2 separate regions of the Homo sapiens genome follow, and region 2 is linked to region 1. Evidence: promoter capture Hi-C in 16 types of primary human blood cells and fetal thymus (Javierre and others, 2016). All regions are on one chromosome and are shown on one strand. The core of a region is centred on a gene start or on the middle of the fragment in contact, and the rest is flanking DNA. Distances in the headings are between cores, read along the strand shown. Region 1 holds the start of LY86 (lymphocyte antigen 86). Region 2 overlaps RREB1 (ras responsive element binding protein 1).

The links. Contacts are between HindIII fragments. The CHiCAGO score rates a contact against its expected background, and 5 or more counts as called.
Region 2: a fragment that was not itself captured here is called in contact with the fragment with the promoter of LY86 in region 1 in 1 of 17 cell types (naive CD8 T cells); the score reaches 6.7 in naive CD8 T cells.

The regions. Positions count from the first base shown.
Region 1 is chr6:6,585,011-6,591,820 of GRCh38, reverse strand. LY86 (lymphocyte antigen 86) reads right to left here and starts at 3,101. Exons shown (of 5, transcript NM_004271.4): 1 at 2,951-3,101. The coding sequence starts at 3,086. The region is part of intron 1 of LY86-AS1 (LY86 antisense RNA 1); the gene reads left to right. RefSeq lists enhancers at 4,575-4,704, 4,715-4,804, 6,629-6,738. The HindIII fragment of the contact is 13,475 bases long and covers 1-4,629 here.
Region 2 is chr6:7,241,610-7,248,419 of GRCh38, reverse strand. It overlaps RREB1 (ras responsive element binding protein 1), which reads right to left. Exons shown (of 13, transcript NM_001003699.4): 12 at 1,199-1,996. Among named protein-coding and RNA genes, the nearest start is that of SSR1, 68 kb to the left of the region's middle. The HindIII fragment of the contact is 213 bases long and covers 2,376-2,588 here.

The sequences.
Region 1 (6,810 bases), core at 1,852-4,351:
ACTTTGCCTGCTGATTAAACTCTAGACCACAGGGAGTTTTAGAGCATGGGTTCTGGAGTCAGGCAGGCTGGGGATCAATTTGTTTTAATTCCATCAATAGTTCCTCAATGTCTTACCTTCTCTGTGACCCTGGGGATATAATTCTGCCACTATTAGCTGTGTGGCCTTGGAAAAGTTCACTAGTCATAACATCTTTATCCCTCAGTTTACACATCTGCAACATAAGAATGATGCATGTAAAGTACTTAGCCTGGTGGCCTCCACCAACATGAGGTGTTATCATTAGTATTTTCATCAGTCTTTAAGCCTCAACTTAGGCTTGGTGACTCCTTTTCCAACAGATCCAGATACCAACCTCACCATCGTCTGACTACTATGTCCCTGGTGCACAATGCCTGCCTTCACTACAGCCTTTCACACAAAGCATTTACCCTGTTGCTTAATTGTCTGATCGTCCCACTCCCTTGGATGAGAACTGCATCTCTTCCATCTCTTATTCTGAGTGGCTTGGCTAAGACATTCACTGACTCCATGGGGAAACTTCACCTACAGAGGAAAGAGCCATCCTCCTGTGGGCAGGTGATGTGTCCTTGTTCTTTCCCTGACGTGCCCAGTCCTCTTGCAAGTGACTTGAAAGGATGCACCAGCCTGGCTGCAGGCAGAGGGTGAGTCTGGGAGACAGATCAGCTGTGGCAACCTTTATGCAAGGATGAATTGGAAAAACCAACCCTGACCAGTCCATTTATCTCACATCTTGCTTCTCATCCTGCACTGAAAATGAATGGGATACTAGTGGTCCTGACGCCATGGGAAAACCTAGAGTGACAAGATCAGCACTTCCAGCATCCAGTCGTTCATTCTCTTTTACTTATTTTTAATTTTTGTGTGTGTGTGCACTTCAATGTCCCTTATTTTTAAAAGTGAGGTCAAATTGAACAAATGGCCCTGGTGACTAGAGTGACCATCTGGACCTCTCTGGGCAGCTCTTTGGGTGGCAGTTGTAGGATCAGGTACTTGCTCAAGCACTGCATCCTCATCACTCCCCAGCTTAGAGTGAGGCCAATTCAGATGCTTAATCAACTTCTCTTTTCCATCTCCTGTAGTTCAAACGGCATTTTGCCCCCATCTCCCTCCAAAGTGGCAGATATCACAATGCCATGCGTTTGCACAAGCCAGTCCCTCTAACAGCAGATGTGATCCTGAGGCTGGGCTCCTGAGTTGCTCCCCACTTGGGAGCCCTGTATGGGATGAATTGCATCCCCTCAAATTTATGTATTGAAGTCCCAACCCCCAGTACAGTACAGCCCCCTTATCCAAGATTTCACTTTCCAAGGTTTCGGTTACTCTCAGCCAACTGCAGTCCAAAAATATTAAATAGAAAATTCCAGAAATAATTCATTAGTTTGACATTGAGCATCCTCCTGAGTAGCATGATGAAATCTCGTGCTGCCCAGCCCACCAGGAACACGAATTGTCTAGAATATCCATGTTGTCTCTACTACCGGCCTGTCCGTCACTTAGTAGCTGTCTCATTTATTGGGTCCAAAAACCATAGTATATGTAGGGTTCAAAACGATCTATGATTTCAGGCATCCACTGGGAGTCTTGGAACGTATTCCTAGCAGACTGGGGGGGGACTACGGTATCTTAGAATGTGACTGTATGTGGAGATAGGGTCTTTTTTTTTTTTTTTTTTTTTTTTAAGACAGAGTTTCGCTCCTCTTGCCCAGGCTGGAGTACAATGGCACGATCTTGGCTCACTGCAACCTCCACCTCCTGGGTTCAAGCAATTCTGCCTCAGCCTCCCAAGTAGCTGGGATTACAGGCGCGTGCCACCATGCCCAGCTAATTTTATATTTTTAGTAGAAACAGGGTTTTTCCATGTTGGTCAGGCTGGTCTTGAATGCTTGACCTCAAGTGGTTCACCCTCCTCAGCCTCCCAAAGTGCTGGGATTACAGGTGTGAGCCATCATGCCCTGCTGGAGATAGGGTCTTTAAAGAGCTGATTAAGCTAAAGTGAGGCCATGGAGGTGGGCCCTAATCTGATATGATTGTGTACTTATAAGAAGAGGAGATGAGGACACAGATGTACACAGAGGGAAGAGCACATGAGGAGACAGGGAGAAGATGCCACCTAGAAGCAAAGAAGAGAGGTCTCAGGAGAAACCAGCCCAGCTTCCAGAGCTGTGAGGAAATAAATCTGTTATTTAAGTCCCCAGCCTGTGGTGGTTTGTTATGGCAGCCCTAGCTGACTAAGACACAGCCCGATTGGTTGGTTCTGACACTTCTTACCACAGTTCACTGCATTCTCTTCACTGAATTGCAATTATCTGTTGGCGTATTGGGTTGGCCCGCTGGGGTGACAGGCCTGGCATATGCACTTTTATTATCTCTAGCACTGAGAAACCCTGGCATTGATAGCTGCATGCGAAGTGCTTGCTGAATTCATGAGAGCTACTGCTGCAGTGAAAGCTCTGAAAGTGTCCAGAGAGGGACAGGAATCTTCTCTTTGGGCAGAAGTGATCTTTTCACTTCACTTGCAAAGTACATCAGATGGAAAGGTAGCCCAGGTGTACGGTGTTGAGGAAGGGCCTACTGGAAGCTGCTTTTCCTAATTTTCAGCTGGTGAGGTTTGATGATTTGGTAGACTCACTGATCATTTTGTTCTTTTTTGGGTTCTGTGGTGTTAGTAAATGGCTATATTTAGATTCAATTTCTCTTTCTTGTACTCTTTGTTGTTCTGCCATTCTCTTCCGCTCCCAGTCCTGGCCCCACCGCTCCTTCTTCCAAAAGCTCCCAGTGGCCCTCCCAGACCTGCTGCAGGTGGAGAAAGTGTTCAGCTGCTGGTCCCCTCTCCCCTCCCACCCCAACTCCAACTGAGCACTAGCGGCTCACATCTGTGGGCCTTGCTTTCCCCATAAACACACATGGGTGTACTGCAAGGGCTTACCGCAACTCTGGTAGAGCACTTCCAAGCCGCTGTCGCTACAGACCACGTGTGTGGGCCAGGCTTTCCCACCGCCGCCTCCACTGCAGCTGGGAAAAATCAGAGTCCAGAGGAAGAGAGTGGCTGTGAAACCCTTCATGGTGGGGGCCTGTATGGGACACACAGAAAAATAACCGGCCAATAAAAAGCCTGTAAAATTTCTTCCTCTCCCCTCACCAAGGCAGTTGGATGTTCAGTTTCACTTCTCAAATTTTAGACTCGCTGGGAACCACAGTCAGAAGTAAAAGGCTGAGAGCAGAGGCATTTGAATACTGTTCCCCCAGGACCTTGAATCTACAGGTGTGGCTGGTCTGGTCTGGGGTAGGATGCGTGCTGACTTTCTGCTTTCACAGGGAGAGGGTCAGTAGTGATGCGTGAACTTACCTCTTGGGGGCCCCTCAGAACAGCCTCCACCCCCAGGTGAGGCTGTAAACTTGGGAAAGACAAAGCGCAGGCCACCATCTGTTTCCCATCTCCAGCCCCCGAGTCTCTGCAGGCTCTTGATGCAGGCTGTGTATGGACCCAGGGACCTGGCTGCAGCCAGCAGGCAGCAGTTGATAGCACGAGGGCTACAGAATGACATTTGGAATCTGGAATGAGGCTTTGGCCCTATTGTCACTTTCCTCTCCTCTGGCTTTGGCTCTGCTCTTAGGTTTGGGATTTTAGCAGTGAATTGTCCAGCTGCAGAACAGACCTTGTTTTGGGAGCTGCAGATGTGGTCTCTGGAGATGAGGCAGAGGCAATAGCCCTGAGAAGTGAGCCGTGTTCTATTTCTGGGTTTGGCTTGGTAGAAAAAGTAGGAAGGGTGGGGAGGTGGGGCCACCCTTAAGGAGGCTGGTTTGCTGGTTTTGGTGTTAGTGGGATCATTGACATCACATCTCACTTTCTCTTCAAAGCCAAGATTCTGTCTTCCTTCTTCCATGTATCTCTATTCTGCTGCAGGACAGCAAGGTTTCTCAGTCTTGATTCCTCAACCCCGCCCCAGCTTCACCTTAATGTAAGAGGACCAGAGTCAGTGCCAAGGTCAGCAGATTTCAGGAGCAATAGAAAACACTATTTTCCCTGGGAGGAACAGCATTTTTCTGAATGCACTAGGTAAATTTACTATTTCTGCTGATGGCTAAGCAAAAATTAGAGTTAGCTCAAAACTTTTTTTGAAATAGGTGGAACATAATTACCAATAAATTAATTGGTAAATAATTTGGATTTCTTGATAGACATCAGAGAGTGGTCATTTGGAGAAGGAACAGTTGTGGATTGATTATTTTTAGGTACCTCTGCAAATAAGTTCAGTGATGATGGCTTTCAACAGCAGTTCTCAAAGTGCGGCCTGGGAAGATGACAGCCTCAGCTTCCACTGGGGGCTTGTTAGAGATGCAAATTCTGGGCTACTCAAGACCTATTAAATCAGAAACTCTGGGGGGCGGGACTCACCATTCTGGATTTTCACAAGCCCTCCAGGTGTGCCTGATGCAGTCTCAAGTTTGAGAACTGCTGGCTTTTACAGAACATAAAGCGAAGGTTGAGCCCCAAGGGAGTGGTGGGAAGTTGCTCTAAGAAGAGACAAGGTGGCCCCTCTGGCCTGTGTGAGCGGAAGGCAGCTGCGCTGTGAGCAAGATCTCGGGAGATGAGAGTCTGAAGCTTATGGTGAGAGCAGCGGCCCTGGTGGAAGCGTGGTAGCCCCTAGAAGGTCCAGGATGGAACACAGAAGCTTTCCCTTGGGATATGTGAGTGCTCCAGCAGTTGTAAAGAGAGCTCTGAACATATGTGAGTGAGGAGAGCAATTGAGGGTGAGAACTTCCTTCCCTGCAAAGTGCGTCATGATTGACACTGGAGGAGGAGTCCAGGAGTGCAGGGCAGGGAGCAGAAAACCTAGCAGAGAGCTGTGGGCAGCTGTGGCAGGGAAATGGTCTTAGTATGTTCTGGCTGCCATAACAAATACCTTAGACTGGGTGGCTTAAATGACAAGCATTTATTTCTCACCATTTTGGAGGGTGGAGGTCCAAAGTTGGAGATTAAGGTGCTAGAAGATTCAGTGTCTGGTGAGGGGCCTCTGGTTCACAAATGGTGCCTTCTGGCTGTGCCCTCACATGGTGGAAGGGGCGAAGGGTTTCTCTTAGGCCTCTTTTATAAAGGCACTAATCCCATGTATGAGAGCTCCATTCTTATGACCTAATCACCTCCCAAAGGCCTTTCCTCCTAATACCATCACCTTGAGGCTTAGGATTTCAACATATGAGTTTGGGCAGGGCCACAAACATTGGCTTTATTGCAGAAACAGTGTCATCTGAAGACAGGGGTACAGATTCTTGAGAATCAAAAGACCTGGAAATGAAAGGAATCATAATTCAGGGATCGCACTAGCATTTAGAAATATTCCAAATGGACCAATCAGGAACCTTGTGATCATGGTGACCCTAGGACATTGGTCTTCAGGCTAGAGTGGTCTTCAGGGCATCAGCGTCAGCTGGGGGGCTTGTTAACATGCAGATTGCTGGACCCCACCCCAGAGTTTCTGCTCCTGTGTGTCTGGTGAGGCCTGAGAACCTGTGTTTCTAACATGTTCCCAGGTGATGCCAGTGTTGTTGATCTGGGGCCACATTCTGAGGACCTCTGGTTTAGCTTACAGAATTTGATCATTTGCAGAATGTACAATTAAAAAAAATCTTCTTAATAAAATGTTTTGTTTTATGACAGATGGCATTTTATATAACACATATATAACATACCCATATAGGATTAAGAGTAAGCCACATTCTCTAAGGAATTCTACTTACTAGTTCTGCCTACTGAAAATGGGATTTGATTGAAATCATTAGTTATGGCCGTCTAGTTCAGAAATCAACCCATAATGATGTCTGGAGTTCTTTAACTAGAACCTTTATAAAGACAGCCAGAGTGTTCTTTGAGAATGTCCTATTCCCTAATTATAGAATAAAATTAGAATCGGTTTATGGTAGTTATTTAAAATATGGTTATGTCTACGTAATGGTAACCAAACACACACATACTGTCAGGCTTTGATGCTGACTTCTAATCTCTTAGCAGGCTGTAGCTGAAGAAGCTGTGCTCTGGTCTCATTCAGATTTCTTTTCTACTTTTTGGACAATCCTCCTCTTCTTCCATGTCTCACACTGCTCTCCTTCATATATATATATATATAATTTTATTTTATTTTTTTGAGACGAAGTCTCACTCTGTCACCCAGGCTGGAGTGCAGTGGCATGATTTCAGCTCACTGCAACCTCTGCCTCCCGGGTTCAAGTGATTCTCCTGCCTCAGCCTCCCAAGCAGCTGGGATTATAGACGTGTACCACCATGTCCAGCTAATTTTTGTATTTTTAGTAGAGACAGGGTTTTGCCGTGTTGGCCAGGCTAGTCTTGAACTCCTGACCTCAGGTGATTCACCCACCTCAGCCTCCCAAAGTGCTGGGATTACAGACGTGAGCCACTGCACCCACCCTTGCTTTCCTTTCATAGAGGTCTTCTTGAGGACGGTGCCTTTCTTTTCTTGCAGAGTAAAAATATTCTTATCAAGATGACCATCCCTAAAGCCGTTCTTAAGGAGAAAATGTTTGTTTGAGGAGAGACTTAAAGAATCAAATGTGAGACTCTGGGGGCAGGAGTCCAGCTATGTATGTAAGCAAGTAAGGGTGAAGCTGTGCCACAAGAGAAAATACAATACTCCAGGGAGTGAGGGGAGAAAAAAGAAAGGCCTGGAGGGGAGAGAGGAGAGGAGAGGAGGAGAGAAGGGGAGAGGAGAGATAAGCAGGTGATTGGCTGCTGTGGAGTGGAGGGAAGCAGCCTGCCAGCAGGTGGGACAA
Region 2 (6,810 bases), core at 1,233-3,732, 660 kb before region 1:
TATGTGCGGGGGGCCAGGACTCCGTCCTACTCAGCCAGAGGCCTCTTCCTTGAACCAGCAAACTGAGGACGGACAAGCTCTGTTTGCTGGTTCAAGCTGTCAGTCTGAGACCTTTCCTCTCCTTCCTCTCTCAGCCCAGGCACTCTACATACTGATCCAGAAAACCCAGGTCCCAGAAGCAGAAGCCTCAGGAGATGTGCAGACTGGCCTCGACCAGAGACTGGGAAGGAATCTAGAGGGGGACAGGAGTGGACCCTCTCAGGGATCTGTATGGACAGCAGCACCTAGGTCGGGGGCACCAGTTACCCTCTGCATTGCGATGTGGTGCAGCGGGGGCTTTCCTGATGGCTCACACGCCAGGCCCAGGGCAGGGCCCACCACGCTTGTTGGGAGCCCAAGAATATCCCTCTTCTGAGAGCCAAGGACCCTGGCCCTTCACACGGGCAAGCGCAGGGCAGAGCCGACTGCGCTGGGTCGGGGCACATGTGTTCACTGCGGGCTGCAGCTGTGACAGGGAGGGAAGCTGCGGCTGAGAGGAGGGACAGGTTATTTTGGAAAGAAGAAGGATATATCTCTGGACTCCATGAGCATATTCAGGTCTTTGTGTCAAAGTAAGCGCCCCTGCTCTGGGGTCTGCAGCCTCCACCCTGCAGGTGGTGGGTGAACTCTAGAACGGTGTGAAGGGCAGTGGCTAAGGGTCCTGTCCCAGTCATCTCAGCCGAACTGCACGGCTAAGAAAGGAAAAGGCCCTCCTGACCCTAATGGATCACCCAGGGTGCCTGCCCCACAGCGGCCTGGGGCAGTGCCTGTCGTCCAGGCCACAGGACTAGACAGGACTAAGTGGCCCAAATGCCCAGCACAAGCACCCTCTCCTAGATACCTCTATGAAACAGGGCAGCTGTTACCCCCACTCTACAGATGGGGAGGCGGAGGCAGCAGAGCTAAAGGCGGATCACAGCGTTCTCAAAAACACAACGGCCAAGGACCCTCTCCTGCCTGGCTGCAGGAGGCCTGCACCGTCTTCAAGGGCTGAGAGTACAACTCCTTAAAACTCCTAGTTCACGGGCTTAAAGGGCACACCGGCAACGTAAGCAAACGTTCTCTCGGTGGCCTCCAGCGCCGCTTCAGGGGAGCTCCTAGGAGAGGTGCCCGGCTCGCCTCCTCTTGTTGGGCCGGGGACCTGGCCTGCCCTGGTTACCTGTGTGGGAGCGCATGTGCCGGGTCAGGTCCTGCAGCGACCAGAACCGCTTGTTGCACACGCTGCAGACCTTCTTCCTCTTGTCTGCCTTGCTGGCCACGCTTTTGGGGGAGTCTGTCTTTGGTTTCTTGTCATCGTCGCTCTTCTCTGAGGACCTTTTCTCGGCCGCGCTCTCCCCGTCGGAGGGGCCCTCCGTCTCCTCCGCGAGCTTTTCCGCCGGGGCCTCCCCGGCACCCGGGGCCGACTCCACCACCTCTGCCGGGGTCTCGGGGGGCTTCTCCTCCTGTTCAGGGGCGGGCTGGGGCCCCTCCTCTGCAGTGCTGGCGCCATCTCCCTTCTCGTCCTTGGGCTCCTGGCGGCCGTGCGCCTTCCGGTGGCGGCTCAGGGTGCCCAGGAACTTGAAGCTCTTCCCACAGGTGTCGCAGGCGAGCTTCTGCTCCTGCGAGGCCGCGCCCCCGGCGCCTGCCTCGCCGTCGCCCTCCGCCAGCTTGAAGTCCATGAGCTTGGTGGCGAAGTCCAGGTCCAGGCTCTGGTTGCTCGACGCGTCCTCTTCCGCGCCGTCGGCGTCCCCAGTGCTCTCCTCAGTGCCATGCTCCTCCTCCGGCTCATGGCTCTCCCCACGCCCGTGCTCTTCCCGGTGCACCGGCGAGGCCGTTTCCGCCGTGGCCTGCTCCACAGGCGCATCCCCTGCGACCTGGCGGAGCTCAGTGGCGCCCTCCGACGGCTGCTCTCTGTCCCGTGAGGTGAGGTCTAGCACTTCGCCCGCGGCGGCTGCAGTCTCCGCATCCGACTGACTGTCTGTGGGGCAAGCACAGCGGGGAGGGCTCAGAGGGGCACCACCAGGTACGCCCATGCCAGGGATGTCGCCGGGAATGGGCTAGACCCACGCCAGCAGCCTGAACCCCAAACCAGTGAGGACTTCTTTCGGCCCAAATCCTCACCACCTGTTACATCCCCCAGGAGGACCAAGATGACCCTGGGGACGTGAAGAAAGGCAAAAGCAGCCTCCACATCACCTCAGGTGTGTTCCCAGGGCTGGCTGTGCCCCTGAACCCCTGGCTTCCACTGCCCCCGCCCCCAGGAAGGTGTGAGTGACTCAGGCAGGGCAGACAGGGGCTGCGAGATAGGAGAGGGGTGCATTCCAGAGACTCGCAGCGCTAGGGAAGTTGAGGAAGCTTGAGTTATAAGTTATTTTTCCAGTGCAAAGAGATCATACAAACATGCAACATACACAGGACCACCCCTACCCCTAATCCTCCAAAGCATGGTCTTGATGAGTTTCACAGGAAACGACCCCAAGCCTGCGTTGTGTGTGTATGGTATGCACACTCTTGCCTGACGCTCATCTCCAGGTGGAGGCTGCAGAGACCCAAGGGGGCGCAGGCAAGCTTGTAGGCTTCCTAGCTGTCAGCCTCCCAGGGGTGGTGGAATCTTTCAAAGGAAGGGCACCCTTGATGCCAGGCTTGGCAACAGCACACAGTGAGGGGAGCGGACTGTGAAGGGCTGTGGGTGCCTGTGAAGACAAGGGGTTCTGGGTTCCAGGCATCTCACCTACCCTGACTTCCTGCCTCTTGATTTGTTCCTATCTGTCCATTCCACCCAGTAAAACTGTATGTGGAAAGCCTATCAGTTTTCAACAGTCCTTTTAAGGGATGGCACGGCTGCAATATTCACATCAAACAGTGTCAAAAGGCCTTCTCTTTACTAAGGTTGAAAGAAGACTTAATAACTTCTTAAAATTATGCATTACGACAGTACATTGGAAGCTGGTGGGACCTATTATTTAGCTGCAGATCCTATGTCTGATTTAGTTTTTATTATTTTTTCAAGACGGAGTTTCGCCTTGTCGCCCAGGCTGGAGTGCAATGGTGTGATCTCCACTCACTGCAACCTCCACCTCCCGGGTTCAAGCAATTCTCCTGCCTCAGCCTCCCAAGAGCTGGGATTACAGGCGCCCACCACCACGCCCAGCTGATTTTTGTATTTTTAGTAGAGATGGGGTTTCATCATGTTCGCCAGGCTGGTCTCGAACTCCTGACCTCAGGCGATCTACCCACCTCAGCCTCCCAAAGTGCTGGGATTACAGGCGTGAGCCACCGTGCCCGGCCACTGTCTGATTTATTACTGCAGGGATTCAAGTTCCTCTGATAATTGGGTGGATGAAAGTCATTGTTTTATGGCACAAGTACGAGATGCCCCTCCCTCAATAGGCCAGATGTGATTGCAGTCCTTGAGCCAGCAGATTCACGCACCTAACCTGGATTCTCACTTGACGTGATCAGGTGTAACTACAATGTCAACCTGCATCCATCACACCTCCTCAATGTCACATGCTTGATGATTTGCCATCAAGGCGGTCAGGAGGGCTGGGGTAAGGAGCTGGTTCTGCCCCGTCCTGAGGTCTGAGGAGACAGTACCTACTGTTCACACCTGCTTGGGGCTTTAGGCTTTACCCACAGCCATCTGCATAACGCGGCTACTTACATCATTTCATTTCATTAGTTTTACACTGACTGCACTTTTTGGCAGCCACTGTTTGGGTATCTCAAGAGGTTTCAGAAAGAAATATTATGGTGTGAATATAACATTTTAAAGAAGAAATGATTTTGCAAAATTATCCAAAAGCTTAAAGAATATGAGTCCTGGGATATGCACACCAATGTCTGGGCCACATTCCAAGGAAAAACTAGATGTTCGTTTTTCTTGAATCATTTCAACAGAGAGCATCTATAGAATGGATATTGGTATAAACTCTACAATAAAAATACAGAACGCTCAATTTGTTTGCTGGCTTTGTGGGTAATTTCCCTCCCTAGAGTCAGGGTCTCCCTATGTTGCCCAGGCTGGTCTCGAACTCCTGGGCTCAAGGGGTCCTCCTGCCTTGGCCTCCCAAAGTGCTGAGGTTATAGGCATAAGCAACTGTGGCTGGCCTTTGTAAGTAATTTTTTTTTTTTTTTTTGAGATGGAGTCTTGCTCTGTCACCCGGGCTGGAGTGCAGTGGTGCAGTCTCAGCTCACCGTAACCTCTGCCTCCTGGGTTCAGGCGATTCTCCTGTCTCAGCCTCCCAAGTAGCTGGGATTACAGGTGTGAGCCACCATGCCCAGCTAATTTTTGTATTTTTAGTGGAGACAGGGTTTCACCATGTTGGCCAGGCTGGTCTCAGAACTCCTGACCTCAGGTGATCCACCTTCCTCGGCCTCTAAAAGGGCTAGGATTACAGGCATGCGCCACCACGCCCGACTGGTAATTTTTAAAAGAAGGTTTAATCTCTGGTTACTTCCCCTTTGTCCCCAGTATATCCTAGACTACACTTCTATTTTTTTTTTTTCAGCAAAGAACATGCATTATTTTAACTGCACAGAACATATTTAACATGATAGAGCTTTAAAGAAAGTAAAATAAATTTTGAAACAAAACCCAAAGAAATATAAGATCAAATTGTTCCTGCTCTCGGGCCCTTCCTTTGCGCGGATAATGGAGAGAGATCACCCGGAGTACAATGAAAGGCCAACTCCCTCTTTGGACACAGGGGGCTTGGTTGTATTCTACCAAACTCCCACTAGGGGGAGTGTTTTAGCAGTGTAGGCTGTGCCCTTCACATTCTAAACAACTGATTTTCATTAGTGATTCTCATGAACAAAAAACTTCACCTCTTCACCTATCATGAATACTCAACTTATAAGGCCAGGTGCTGTATAAATCCCCGCCCTCAACACCCAGACTCCCAAATGCAGGTAGCTGAGCTGATGACTTTTTATAAGCAATGCTACCTTAAAAATATGCAGTTCTTCCCTCTCCCCATCAGTCCCTCGGTTTGTGTTGTTCAACAACTAAGAAAACTGTTAGAGGAAGCAGAAGGAATCCTGGTAGATAATAAACCCGCAGCTCCTCCTACAGGACTGTGGAGACAGCCCTAGTCAGCTCAACAATTAAAGATCTATTGCTTCCTAAAAATTAAATGAGCCTCAACCACTGTGACAGACTACCAACCTAAGTAATTATCTGACCTGGCAGGGGTGCCTTTGCAGGGGAAGCTGCTGTGTCTGCACTCCACCCAAAGCATCTGAGGATGGAGAGGGTTTCCTGAGGTGTAGTCCATGCTGACATGTGGGACTTCTGGGCTGGTAAAGGCGGCCACCATTAAGGGAGAGCTTAAACACTTTCATGTTTATACGAATTAAAAACAGCCCTATGTAGGTGCCTACAAACACAAAGACGGGGCATCATCGGAGGAAGGACCAAGGGCATATCCCTCAAGGGCAGAGGGGGCCAGGCTGCCTCTCTGTCCAGGACAGTGAATGAAGAATTTCAGTTGAAATTTGAATATTCAAAATGGACCTTTAAGGGAGAACTGCCCCCACTGTGGCATTTTTAGCATTCTTTTGGGGGACTTTATGAGACTGAAAAATGTCAGACCTACATTATAAAACATGTGTAGGAATTTTAAGAAAATGCCACCTAGGCATACAAGCCTAGAAAACCCCTCAAGGACCTCCTTGGTCATTTCCTTCCCCCCCCCCCTTTTTTTTAAGTGGTCTTCCTTCAAAGCCTCACTTTTTAAACTTCACTGGGGGGGGGGAACCCAGAATGAAGGCTTCACCCCATGTCCATCATGCTCATCTGCATTTTAAAATCCTCCTTGAAATCACTAAACTCTGCCTCCCTAAACTTTTCCCTCCCACTTAAATCTCAGTCCCTTTTCTCACCATGGACTGTGACCACAACTAAACCAAACATGTATTTTCTCTTTGCTGGTTTCACATTACAACTTTCAGTGACTTTTCTTTTTCTAGAGGCTTTGTCCCTTCAAGGAACCCTATATAACTTCCGGGGTGGGGTGGAGGTGGGAAAGGGCTTTGTTGGGATTTGGACAACAAAACCTATGACTGCAAACTTATAAATACACTTGGTGCTGAACCGAAGCTAAGACCACAAATTCCGACTCAGCTTTGTGTCTGCAGATGTCAGCAGGAGCCCCAGTCTTTGTTCCTCCCTTATGATAAAGAAGCTGAATGCAAAATGCACATCCAGCACGGAGTTACTAAGACTTATTTGTAAACATGGAAACCCAAGGGCTCCCCCTCAGCTCCCTCAGTTACCGGCTGCTTTCGCTACTGTGGAACCACTATGGGAAGATCACAGGGCAGCTTTCTAAACCAGGATGAAAGAAAATGTTCCAGACTAACAGGTAATGTGGCGGCTGATGGTTAAACATTAACAGGATGGTCTGCAGCAAACGCGTGCCTGCCAGCACTGGTGTGCGCTTCCAGTGGGCTGAACTCCAGGTCATCTTTGGCTCACAGGGGTCCAAGTTAGGCTAAGATTCCGTGGGCACCCACATCTTTCTTCACTCAAAGATACTGGTGAGTTATGTGGAAGTGGAAGCTGGGGAAGCAGTGAACAAACCAGCTTACCCTTTCATACCCTCAGAGGATCTGATCTAGACTGGCGGTTGGGCAGTCAAGAGCACTCACAGTTGGTTTCACTAGGGCTCAGTGGGAGGCGTAGAGATGGGCAAAGGGTGGCCTCTCCACTTCAGATACACCCTGTACCCCTGTAACCAAGGTAAGGACAAGGGGCTAAGATTAATGCCCAACCCTCTTCCACACTGA